3 separate regions of the Homo sapiens genome follow, and regions 1 and 2 are each linked to region 3. Evidence: promoter capture Hi-C in human tissues and cell types (Jung and others, 2019). All regions are on one chromosome and are shown on one strand. The core of a region is centred on a gene start or on the middle of the fragment in contact, and the rest is flanking DNA. Distances in the headings are between cores, read along the strand shown.

Evidence for each region. Contacts are between HindIII fragments. The study calls those that stand out against the background at their distance.
Region 1: a fragment that was not itself captured here is called in contact with the fragment with the promoter of DPM3 in region 3 in 1 of the 25 tissues and cell types used here (hippocampus).
Region 2: a fragment that was not itself captured here is called in contact with the fragment with the promoter of DPM3 in region 3 in 1 of the 25 tissues and cell types used here (dorsolateral prefrontal cortex).

What each region holds. Positions count from the first base shown.
Region 1 is chr1:155,860,169-155,864,496 of GRCh38, forward strand. All of the region lies in intron 1 of SYT11 (synaptotagmin 11), which reads left to right. Among named protein-coding and RNA genes, the nearest start is that of SYT11, 2.8 kb to the left of the region's middle. The HindIII fragment of the contact is 3,807 bases long and covers 135-3,941 here.
Region 2 is chr1:154,600,015-154,604,367 of GRCh38, forward strand. It overlaps ADAR (adenosine deaminase RNA specific), which reads right to left. Exons shown (of 15, transcript NM_001111.5): 2 at 1,027-2,612. Among named protein-coding and RNA genes, the nearest start is that of ADAR, 6.0 kb to the right of the region's middle. The HindIII fragment of the contact is 4,304 bases long and covers 7-4,310 here.
Region 3 is chr1:155,137,852-155,142,119 of GRCh38, forward strand. It overlaps DPM3 (dolichyl-phosphate mannosyltransferase subunit 3, regulatory), which reads right to left and starts at 2,680. Exons shown (of 2, transcript NM_153741.2): 1 at 2,640-2,680; 2 at 2,040-2,394. The coding sequence starts at 2,389. The coding sequence ends at 2,111. It overlaps SLC50A1 (solute carrier family 50 member 1), which reads left to right. Exons shown (of 6, transcript NM_018845.4): 5 at 128-247; 6 at 329-1,002. The coding sequence ends at 430. RefSeq lists enhancers at 2,620-2,749, 2,920-2,979. The HindIII fragment of the contact is 27,453 bases long and covers 330-4,268 here.

The DNA.
Region 1 (4,328 bases), core at 788-3,287, 720 kb after region 3:
GGTGCCCCTTCCTCCCCCTCCCATTCCTAAGGGCTGCGGGGGAGGGAAGTGACAAGGGGGATGGGGCATCAAGATGGCAGCTTGGAGACTGTGGGCCGTGTGGCTGGCAGCCAGGGGAGGCGGCGGCCTCTGGGGAAAGAGGGGTGCGGGGTGGGGAGCAAAAAGGAAGCCACTCCTTAAGCCGGTCAGCTGGATGCTGGGGCTAGGAGGAAACGTGAGCCCTGCAAGCTCCATTCCGCATCGTAATGGTGGGGTCCCTCCGATGCTACCAAATGGCGCTTGGCGCTGCTGGGCTGGGGGATGACGTGATGTCTATTTCTGGGCCTCCTGGCAGCGCCGACGCTCTCCTTCCGGGGCCTTTGTTCCCTGTTTCCCTGGGCCGCCTTTTCAAAAAGGGGGACTGACCAGCGTTGATGCTGGCGGGGGCGCGATCCAGGCCGGAGGGGGAGGGGCGAAAGAGGCCCAGCCCGGGGGAGGCCGCTTTGTGTACCGCAGAAAGCATTACGTCATTTCAGAGCGGCTGGTCCCCGACCCAGCCCTGTGGGCTCCAAGATTAGTTTTACACTCTCTGGAGCAGAAAGTGGAGTGGAAAATAGGGAAGAAGGTGGCAAAGACAAGCTTGAGAAGGAAGTTTTTTCCTCTTTGGGGACTCCTGCAGTATATGCTAAAGGAGCAAACTTCCTGTGTTATGCTTTCCTGATCAAATAAATAAAATATAATTGCCCTGCTTCTCCTTGATTCAGTTTAGATGGGGGAAGCCAGTGAGAGTTGCTGCCAAAGAACCTTCTTATTCCTTCAGGGATTCTATCCCTCAGACAATCCAGTAGGTTTGAGCATCGGGACTCCAGTTTTTAGGGTGGAGACACAATCCAGCTAGGAAATGGCTTTTCTCATTCCTGAATAAGAGGTACAGTGAAATGAGCAGAATCCAGTGTGCTCTATCCCCTCAGAATAAGGAAGAAGAAATCAAATCAGATGTGTTCAGATAACTGATCTTCACACTCATTAACTACTTGTTCTCACTTATTCCACAAGGCTAAATCTTGATGGTATTTTTTCTTCCACTTCACCTTCCGCATCTTTATTCTTTGAGTTCTAAGTTTCCAAAACAAAAGTCCCTTTCATGATCACATGAGCAATCCATGATTTCTTCCTGTTCTTTTTCTTCTTATTCCCTTCCAACAGATTCCTTTCTCTAACTGCAGTTCCAGAATCCTTGAAAAAAGGAGATGGTGTGGAACATAATATAGTGATTTCTCTTAGAGGGACTATTATTGGGAAAGGGAAAATAAATTATATCAGCCTGTTACATACTACATTTTATTTAATCCTAACAAATACCCTCGAGTGTATGTATTATTATATATACTTGCCAGACAAGGAAACCAAAGCTCAGAAATAAAATAACTTGGCTAAAGCCAAACAAATGACTAAAGGTAGCACTAGTTTGTTTTTGTTTTTGTTTTTGAGACGGAGTTTCGATCTTGTTGCCCAGGTTGGAGTGCAATGGCGTGATCTTGGCCCACCACAACCTCTGCCTCCTGGGTTCAAGCGATTATCCTGCCTCAGCCTCCCAAGTAGCTGGGATTACAGACAAGTGCCACCACACCCAGCTAATTTTGTATTTTTAGTAGAGATGGGGTTTCTCCATGTTGGTCAGGCTGGTCTTGAACTCCCGACCTCAGGTGATCTGCCTACCTTGGCCTCCCAAAGTCCTGGGATTACAGGTGTGAGCCACTGCACCTGGCCAATGCTAGGATTTAAACCAATGTCTGGCTGAAGCCAAAATTTATTCTCATTCCATTGTATTATATTTGTCTACTTGACTGCGAAAAGCTATGTTTAGGAAAGGGGGTGTCAATAAAAGCAGTTCTGGTCAGAAGCTGAAGGAGCTGGCCAATAGCCCAGATGTGTCTTGCAGGTCTTTAAACCATTACAGAGGATCTCCTACATAGAGAACTACCACTTCCAACTTTTTCACATCTCATAGAGTACTTCATTTCAAATGCCACAGCACTTGGGTGATACACCAAGCCAACACTCAATTATCCATGACCATGAAGGACAAAAGGAGCGAGAAGCACAGGTCACTGCAATTTATAGCTACTTTAAAACACTCACTTCAGCCATTAGTTTCAACTTCCATTTCCCACCAAGCTTTGGACTAAAGCAAGACAGAGAGCTCTAGGTTTTAATATCTTTGATGATTCTAGCTCATTGTCTTGGTTTCAGGGAGAGAGGCAAGAGTTAACAAATACTAAAATGAAGAAAGAACAGCAAAAATAGGAAACAAGGCCAGGGGGAACAACTAGATAATTCAAAGATGCGTTCATCTGTTTCTCTTCTTTTCCTTCTCTATCCTCCTGGAATATGAGAATTCTTCATCTTCTCTCTTTTCTACCCTATCTCCATTTTCTAACAATAAAAGTTGATGCATTGTAAATATGTAAGCAGCAGTGGGTTGCCCCCCGCTCCTCCACCGCACTGCTGCAGGGAATAAATCTATGATAGAGCCAAAAGAATTGCCCAGGTGTCTCCTAATCTAAGCCTTCAGATCTCTCTTTATGATCATTCCAAAAAATATGCCTGTCTTGGTAGTTTGCTGTGTTCCTCTTCTCATAGAGACAGTGTTCAGTTTCACTAATGAGTAGCAAACAATTTGCAGGAAAGCACCTGATTGATGAATGGAGAGCCACTTCCTTAGGCTGTGCCCATTCTTAATGGCAACTGAATCCAATTAGTTGTTCAACCAAATATTTACTGAACTCCTATTAGAAGCAAGAGACTCTTGAGGGATTCAAAGATCCATAGGATATTGTTCCTGCCTGCCTTCAAGTAGCTTACTACCAAGGCTGTCTCCATTTTGTGAAAACTTTCCCTAAAAGCTATTTCATTTAATACTTTGAGACTAAACACTATTATTATTCGGTATGGATATAGACATGGTCACCTTGATTTATTTTGTTAATAATGTTTTGCTCCTTATCTATATTATTTTAAAATGTACCCGGGTACAGTGGGTCGTGCTTATAATTCCAGCGACTCAAGAGACTGAGGCAAGAGGATCTTGAGGCCAGGAATTCAAAACCAGACTGGGCAACATAGCACCTTGTCTCTAAAAAAAATTTTTTTTAATTAGCCAGGCATAGTGGCATGGTCCTGTAGTCCCAGCTATTCAGGAGTCTAGGGTAGTAAGATTGCTTGAGCCCAGGAGTTCAAGGCTGCAGTGAGCTGTGATTGCACCACTGCACTCCAGCCTGGGCCACAGAGTGAGACCACGTCTCTAAAAAAATAATAACAATAAATATATATTTTAAATAAAATGTAACTCTTCCTTGGTTAGGCATGGTGGCTTGCACCTGTAATCCCAGCAATTTGGTGGAGACTAAAGCAGAATTGCTTGAGCCCAGGAGTTCAAGACCACCTGGGCAATATAGTGAAGACTCATCTCTAAAAAAAATTTAAAAATTAGCTGGGCATGGTGGCTCATGCCTGTAATCCTAGCACTTTGGGGGGCCAAGGCTGGCAGATCACTTGAGGTCAGGAGTTCGAGACCAGCGTGGCCAATATGGTGAAACCCCGTCTCTACTAAAAATACAAAAACTGGCCAGGTGTAGTGGCATGTGCTGGTAATCCCAGCTACTCAGGAAGCTGAGGCAGGAGAATCACTTGAACCAGGGAGGCAGAGGTTGCAGTGAGCCGAGATCGCGCCATTGCACTCAAGTCTGGGCAAAGCAAGACTCCATCTCAAAAAAAAAAAAAATTAACCAGGCATGATGGCACATGCCTGTAGTCCTAGTTCCTCAGGAGGCTGAGGCAAGAAGATCATTTGAACTGGGGAGGTCAAAGCTTCAGTAAGCTGCGATCATGCATGCCACTGCACTCCAGCCTGAGTGACATGGTGAAATTCCATCTCTGCAAAAAATACGAAAATTAGCCAGGTGTGATGGCATGTGCCTGTAGTCCCAGCTACTCAGGAGGCTGAGGCAGGAGGATCACTTGAGCCCAGGTGGTGGAGGTTGCAGTGGGCCAAGCTTGTGCCACTGCACTCCAGCCTAGGCAATAAAATGAGACGCTGTCTCAAAAGAAATAAAAAAAGTAAGCTCTACCACAATGCCTGGCAGGGACATATAAATTTACACAAAAAATAGCAATTTTATTATTGTCACTGCTATACACAATATTACATGTATATTATGACCAGTGCAGATGAAATTATACCTGCCTCTCATGTAATCTGGACATTATGCTCATAGTATTGTGCTCATGATGCTCATAGGCTTTCTAGAGAAGATAAACCCTTCATCTAGGTTTGGAGGGAAGAAAAA
Region 2 (4,353 bases), core at 909-3,408, 540 kb before region 3:
CTGCCCCAACCCACCTGCTCCTGCACCTCTCTCAGAAAACGGCTTAGGGAGGAGGGGAAGGCCTACAGAAGGGAATTAAGTCTTCATTACCTCTGCCTTAGGAGGCAGGCATGATATTGATGCATGGAGATCAATCATGTTTTTCTTTTTTCTTTCTTTTTCCAAGATGGAGTCTCACTCTGTCGCCCAGGCTGGAGTGCAGTGGCGCCAATCTCGGCTCACTACAACCTCCACCTCCTGGGTTCAAGTGATTCTCCTGCCTCAGCCTCCCGAGTAGCTGGGATTACAGGCAAGCACCACCACCCCCAGCTAATTTTTGTATTTTTAGTAGAGATGGGGTTTCACCATGTTGGCCAGGCTGGTCTCGAATTCCTCACCTCATGATCTGCCTGCCTTGGCCTCCCAAAGTGCTGGGATTACAGTCGTAAGCCACCGCCCCGGCCCCCAAGACCAATCATTTCTTTCTTTTTTTTTTTTGAGATGGAGTCTTGCTCTGTGGCCCAGGCTGGAGTGCAGTGGCGCAATCTCAGTTCACTGCAACCTCTGCCTCCTGGGTTCAAGTGATTCTCCTGTCTCAGCTTCCTGAGTAGCTGGGACTACAGGTGCACGCCACCACGCCCAGCTAATTTTTGTATTTTTAGTAGAGACAGGGTTTCACCATGTTGGCCAGGCTGGTCTCAAACTCCTGACCTCGTGATATGCCTGCCTCGGCCTCAAAAAGTGCTGGGATTACAGGCATGAGCCACCGCGTACGGCCAAAACCAATCATTTCTAAAGAAGCTTCATTACAGCCAACAGAGTCAACCTCCCCCTTGTTCAGCCAAGATTCTGGCTGGTCCAAGGTCTATATTCCCTGCTCAATATCTGGAGAAAGGGCCAATCAAGGGGAATTTAGCTAAAAGGCAGAAGGGAAGGAGGAAAAGATAGGCGCCACCAAACAGCACTGCTCACAAATCAGCCAAGACTGCGTCAGGAGCAAAAGCACCTGACCCCAACCCTAGGTACAGTTCCTGGGTGGTCTCTTACCGAGGTTCATGGGGTGGTCCACTCTGCTCTATCATGTTGAACTCACAGGTTTGACTAGCGAACTGGGCATATTCTAACAGCCCGCTGATGGGGTTCTTCAGCTGGCACTCTGTCAGTTTCTTGTAGGGTGAACACCGTGGCAAGCCATGACTGTAGAAGGAGGGCATCTCCATGATGGCTCGAAACTCACCTGGTGCTGCGCGGATACTATTCAAGTCATCTGGGATGTCATCTGTGGCCCACTGGCCATTTTCAAAGTCAACATACCCTGCTTTTGAGGGGCCATTGTAATGAACAGGTGGTTTCAGTCTTGCTGGTTCTGGTCTGGCCTCTTGCCTGTTTTCTAACTTTATGACAGGTTCCTGCCCATTCTCCACTTTTTCTGTGGTTACCATGTTATTTGAGGCATTTGATGTGGGTATATTACAGGTGAGGAACTCTGCGTTTCTTTTGGTCTCAGGGATTGCAGCTGGAGCGGTTTCAGGAACACTGTTCGTATTTCTCTTGATTTGCATCCTCTCTCGCTTCTTGTCTGTCAAATGCCATATGGGAGGGGTTGTCCCTTGTCTATAGACATCCCCCTGCCTTTCCATGTCAATTAGCACAGCATTTATATCTCGGGCCTTGGTAAGGCCAATATTTTTAGCCAAATTCAGGGCAGAGGAGTCAGACACATTGAAGAGATAGTCGCAGATTTTCTCCTTGATCTCGGCCATGTCTAAAAACTCAAGAGGATCTTCCAAGGCAGATGTGGAGTTGCTGTCTTCAGGTTCCAAACCTGGGTCTGAGTTTGGGGATCCTTGGCTATGACTGTCTGGTCTTACCACTCCGCTGTGCTGGTTCCAAGCCTGAGCTGAGACTGCAATAAAAGGCTCAAGAAGATCTTCTGAGACAGATGTGGAGTTTCTGTCTTCCGGTTCCAAACTCGGGTCTGAGTTTGGGGCTCCTTGGCTATGACCGTCTGGTCTTACCACTCCGCTGTGCTGGTTCCAAGCCTGAGTGGAGACCGCGATTTTCCACAAAGGGGGTGTTCCTGCCTCTTTCTGTAGCTTGCCCTTCTTTGCCAGGGAGTATAAAACTCGATTGATTTCTTTCTTCGGAGTCCCAAGTTTCCCAGACAGATCATGTGCTGTGGTGGCCTTCCCTTCCCCAAGCTCTTCCAGGAACTTTAAGATCCTTTGTTCCTGATCTTGGTAGATACTCAGTTCCTGGAAATGTGAGGAAAGGCAATCAACACCTCTCTGTGGCAGACTCCTGCCACGTGGTGAAGGATGCTGGAACCCTCTCTGGAGCCCCTGACTTCTGAGATGCACGCCCCTGGGGACACCCCTGATGTCCACTTGCCTGCCTCTGGTACTGGAGGCAAGTAGTACTGGAAACCTTGGCCGGAGTCCTGGGAGGGAAGGTGGCAGTGACGGTGTCTGCTTTCCAATCACCGGTGCTTCTGGGAGCTGCCCCTTGAGAAATTCTATTTGCTTAAGCAGGAAACTACTGGGGGAAGATCCTGGCCCAGGCTGCTGGTACCTGAGCTGTCTGTGCTCATAGCCTTGAAATGGATGGGTGTAGTATCCGCTGAGGGAATACCCCTGCAGAATAAGACAGTGGAAAAAGAAAATGAATTAGGGCTGCAGTGGTGAACCTGTGGAGGCCCCTCCCTTTGCTGCCTGTGGAACAGCCCTTGAAGGGCTGAGAAGGCAATTGAGCCATGGGCTTATGACTTGGCTAGGGTGACTTGCCTACCTCCTAAATCCTGCCTAGGGGCCTGCCAACAGGAACACAGAGAGGGGAGCAGGAGGCAAAGCACGCAGAACTTCCAGGAATACAGAGGTTCTGAGGCCTCAGCATAGCCTCTCCAGCAACCTAACTTACTTTTCCCTTTGACAGAATTTAAGGGAGTTGAGAAGGTAATTTTCTAGTTACCAAAACAATTACCCCTTTAAAATCAGAACAACAAATATATGTTATTGTTTTGAAAACAAAAACAGAATAACCTGAAATAACCAGAACAATCACATGAAATAACAATAACCAAGGGAGATGGGACTAGGGAAGGGACGAGATGACCTCTCCTTAAGTCAGGCTCACCAGTGCACCCCTTGCCCACCTGTCTCTAAGATCTATCGTTTAGATGACTATGACAAAAGAAGAAATGTGATTGGATGAAACTGAACCCCAGTCCTCCAAGGCTGTAACAGCGCAGTAACGAAAACAATCTCCAGGTGGGAAAAGGCCACGGGACCTCAGAGTCATCTCTGTGGCTCTTCACTGCCATCCCAGGAGGATCAGAATTTGGTCTTCAGGGAGCTGGAGGGTTTCCTGATAAAAATGGCACACTGTCCTCACTCTTCAGTGTGGTACCCAGGCTCAGAAGGGATGCCAGAGACTTTTGCCCAAACCACCCAGGCTCTCCTGGATGTGTGGAGCTGGCAGCATCTGCTCCTCACCACCTCAGACCAGTCCTACCTTCCCTAGCTACTTCCCCATAGCTGCTTCCACTGCACGTTCTTCTGAACCCTGACGGACAGGGCACAAGCAACCCCATGTTCTCATATGCACATTTACCAGAACACCAAGCACCTGTGACCCCTTTCCCCACCCACCCACCTGCAAACCAGTACTGTCTTCTCCCCAGGGCTGTTCACTGGAGGGTGATGGAGCCAGGAAGTACTTATAAGCCTGGGGGTGTCAGTAAACACCTTGCTTCCTTTCCCTGGGGCTTGTAGACTGGGAGGAGGGATTCTGACAACATTTACTCACACTCACCGCCCCCTCCTCAGACTCTCCTGGAGGCTGCACAGGTAGAGGTGGGACCCTTTCTTCCATAACTCTAGCCTTCTACTCTTCCACATCCTGACACACTTAGGGGATTTCAGCATTCTTGTCAATCACTCTCATGGTGTCCTGGCTACAAGGATCCTTAACCCAGTGATCTCCATCCCTACCTTTCTGCCACACAATTGGCTTGTCTAGCTACTCCTTCAATCTCACTATGACTCTAACCTAGGCCATCACACCAAGACCTCAAATCCTGCAACTCTTTTCCAGTGGCTGATAAACTTTTTCTATAAAGGGCCAGACAGCTCTGCCACTGTAGCACAAAAACAGCCTCACACAATATGCAAAACTTTATTTACAATTCATTTACCATGAAGCTTTATTTATAAAAACAGGTAGTTTGTACCTGTGGGCCATAGTTTCTTGACTCCTGCTCTTTTCTGATGGTGACTTCCCTGTGTTTCTACAACTTCACTCCTTACTCTGGTGGAACCTGCTCCTCGCATGACCCCGGTGAAGCTGCCAGTAAGCCACCCTGATTCTTCCCCACTC
Region 3 (4,268 bases), core at 1,430-3,929:
GTGGGAGGCAGGAAAGGTTGGGTGACAGATCAGGGAGGGTGTCTGACCTTTTTCTTGAGGAAATTCTTAGGCAAGTGAAGCTTTACGATGTGCTTGGGCCAAGAGAGTCTTCCATTCTTTCCCACAGGCTAAGGTGATTCAAACTAAATCAACCCAATGTCTCTCCTACCCACTCACCATTGCTACCCTTCTCACCTCTGCCTCCTGGTGCCTCTATGGGTTTCGACTCAGAGATCCCTATATCATGGTAAGCACAACTGGGATGGGGTGACAGGGGTGCAAGATGGAAAACTGGCTCCTCTCCTCATAGCAGTTCTTGTGATTTCAGGTGTCCAACTTTCCAGGAATCGTCACCAGCTTTATCCGCTTCTGGCTTTTCTGGAAGTACCCCCAGGAGCAAGACAGGAACTACTGGCTCCTGCAAACCTGAGGCTGCTCATCTGACCACTGGGCACCTTAGTGCCAACCTGAACCAAAGAGACCTCCTTGTTTCAGCTGGGCCTGCTGTCCAGCTTCCCAGGTGCAGTGGGTTGTGGGAACAAGAGATGACTTTGAGGATAAAAGGACCAAAGAAAAAGCTTTACTTAGATGATTGATTGGGGCCTAGGAGATGAAATCACTTTTTATTTTTTAGAGATTTTTTTTTTTAATTTTGGAGGTTGGGGTGCAATCTTTAGAATATGCCTTAAAAGGCCGGGCGCGGTGGCTCACGCCTGTAATCCCAGCACTTTGGGAGGCCAAGGTGGGCGGATCGCCTGAGGTCAGGAGTTCAAGACCAACCTGACTAACATGGTGAAACCCCATCTCTACTAAAAATACAAAATTAGCCAGGCATGATGGCACATGCCTGTAATCCCAGATACTTGGGAGGCTGAGGCAGGAGAATTGCTTGAACCCAGGAGGTGGAGGTTGCAGTGAGCTGAGATCGTGCCATTGTGATATGAATATGCCTTATATGCTGATATGAATATGCCTTAAAATAAAGTGTTCCCCACCCCTGCCCACGATGGTTCATTCTCTACTCATAATTCTAAACCTGCCTGGTTTGGTGAAGGATAGATCCACAGTTATTCTCAGGTTGGTAGGGTAGGCTCAGAAAAGGTATCTCAAAGAACCAAAAGGTTGGAAAGACCCAGGAAGGCCTTAAAAATAACAAAACTTGGATGTTATGAAGAATGGAACTTAGGCTTCAAGAAAGTACTTCTGGCCGGGTAAGGTGGCTTATGTCTGTAATCACAGCACTTTGGGAGGCCCAGGCAGGAGGATCACTTGAGCCCAGGAGTTTGAGAACAGCCTGAGCAACACAGCGAGACCCTGTCACTACAAAAAATTAAACATTAGCCTGGTGGCGTGGTGGCATATGCCTGTAGTCCCAGCTACTCTGGAGGCTGAGGTGGGAGAACTGTTTGAGCCTGGGAGGGTGAGGCTGCAGTGAGCCATGATTGCACCACTGCACTCCAGCCTGGGCAACAGAGTGAGACCCTGTCTCAAAAAAAAAAAAAAAAAGAAGTAGTACGCCGGGCGCGGTGACTCACACCTGTAATCCCAGCACTTTGGGAGGCCGAGGCGGGCGGATTACGAGGTCAGGAGATCAGACCATCCTGGCCAACACGGTGAAACCCCGACTCTACTAAAAATACAAAAAATTAGCCAGGCGTGGTGGCAGGCGCCTGTAGTCCCAGCTACTCAGGAGGCTGAGGCAGGAGAATGGCGTGAACCCGGGAGGCGGAGCTTGCAGTGAGCCGAGATCACGCCACTGCACTCCAGCCTGGACGACAGAGCAAGGCTCCGTCTCAAAAAAAAAAAAAAAGAAGTACTTCCTACAGGGTTGAAAGGACCAGGAAAGTGAAATGTCATTTCCATCCTGAGAAATATTGAGAAGGGGTCTTTGCCTCCTTGGGAGCAAAAATGGGAACACCAGCAAGATGCAAAGATAAAGGCTGAGATGGCCTCAAGAAGGTGGTTCTTTCACATTCACTTCTCGACCGTTAGTACATAGAATCCCCAATACCCGTTTTCCATACTCAAACTAAACGAAGTTAGAAAATAAACTGGCTCTTTAATGGGAAATGGGAGGAAGGGCTGTCCGCACAGGAATGGGGTTAGGCTGTCAGAAGCGCAGCCCCCTGCGGGCTAAGTCGGCTCGGGCCTCCTGTATCTGGCTCTGCAGCTCGCGTGCGGCGTCCTCGCAGTCATGAAAAGTGGCCACACGATAGCCCACAGTGCCCAGGGCATAGCAGCCGGCGGACACCAGCAAGTAGGCGGGCAGTGGCCACAGGACTTCCTGGCAGGACAAGGGCAGCTCCAGGCCCAAGGCTCCCGTGGTCAGGGCCACCCAGGTGGAGCCCAGGATCGCTAGTCCCCAAAGCCACTGCGCTAATTTCGTCATGGTCACTGCGAGAGAAGGAAGCAATGCTCCCCTGAGGAGCAGAAAGGAAAAGCGGACCAAACTCAACCGAAGCCCGCCCACGGAGAGCATTAAAACCAGCCCTGGCCAGAGGGGAATCGCCGATCCCAGAGGTCCGAACTTGAGTGCCCACAAAAGGTGGAAGGGCCCCTTCCACCTTGCTACCCCCTCTATATTTGAGACCCACTCCCCATCTCTCGCCCTCCCCATTCAGCCTTCAACCTACACTTACCTCTACCCCACGTCTCCCCTTCCCCGCGCGGCCCGGATGTTGGCGTCCGGAAGTCCTCCCTGGTTCACGTTCCGCTTCCGCGCGGCCTTCTGGGAGTTGTAGTTCACATGGCGGCGCCTGGTGTACTCCTGGCCAGCGCCTCAATCTAGGCGGGGGTACAGTGGGCTGTGCTCCGCAAACGGGGAGCAGGCCGGGTCTGGAGAGGCCTCGGCGCTGCTTTCCCACCTTGGGCTACGCTCCAGGCTGGCGTGGGGCTTGAGGACATCCTTAAATGTTGCAACAAGATGGGAATATAATACCATTCCCCTTAAACTCAATTCTCCAGCGCTGAAATCCATTCCTTCATTCACTAGTTCATTCATTCGAAGATTTCTTTCTTTCCATTCTTGACAGGGTCTCTCTATAGTGCCTAGGCGGGACAGAACTCCTTTTTTTTTTTTTTTTTTTTTTTTTTTTTTTTGAGACAAAGTCTCGCTCTGTTGCCCATGCTGGAGTACAGTGGCTCGATCTCAGCTCACTGCAACCTCTGTCTCCCGAGCAGCTGGGATTACAGGCGCGCGCCACCACGCCGGGCTAATTTTTTTATTTTTAGCAGAGAACGGGGATTTCACTATGTTGGCCAGGCTGGTCTCAAACTCCTGACCTCAAGTGACTGGCCCACCTCAGCCTTCCAAAGTGCTAGGATTACAGGCATGAGCCACAGCGCCCGGCCAGAACATTTCTTGATTACCATGATAGACTTTGGAGATACAGAGATGTCAAGAGACTCGACCCCTTTCAGGTGGAGGGGGAAAGCAGGAGTCAGTGAAGCAGTTGCATTGACAACTAACCATGAAGGCTTGAGATTATTGTTAGAACAGAGGTAGTCATATTTTTACAAGGACAACAACCAATATAACTTGGAGCCAGAGGAAGAAGGGCTCCAGGAGTCTGGGTTTCAAAAAAAAAGAAAAGAAAAGAAAGACCAGAAGAATTACCTGAAGTGGTGAAGGCATTGAAAGAAAGAGTATAATTCTTTAGAACAGTTTTGGGGATGAATTTATTATGTATAGAGAGAAAGAGAGAGAGAGAACAAAGTAAGAGAAAAGGTTAGGCAATTATCAACTTCAGAGGAAACAAAGAGTTATATAAGAAAGGAAAGACAATTGATAAGCCTGTCTTATAAAGACCACATCTGTAGTTTGACAGTTAGGTTTATTAACTTGCCACAACAGAGAGATCACACACTAGAAGAACTGTGGGGCAACTCATTAAAAAGGAAGAAATATGGTCATTCAGATGATATGGTTTGGCTGTGTCCCCACCCAAATTTCAAGTTGATGTGTATCTCCCAGAATTCCCACGTGCGAGGGACCTAAGGGGAGGTAATTGAATCACGGGGGCCAGACTTTCCCGTGCTATTTTCATGATAGTGAATAAGTCTCACAAGATCTGATGAGTTCATCAGGGGTTTCTGCTTTTGCTTCTTCCTCATTTTTCTCTTGCCACCGCCATGTAAGAAGTGCCTTTGTCTCCCGCCATGATTCTGAGGCCTCCCCAGCAATGTGGAACTGTAAGTCCAATTAAACCTCTTTTTGTTTGCAGTTTCGGGTATGTCTTTATCAGTAATGTGAAAATGAACTAATACAA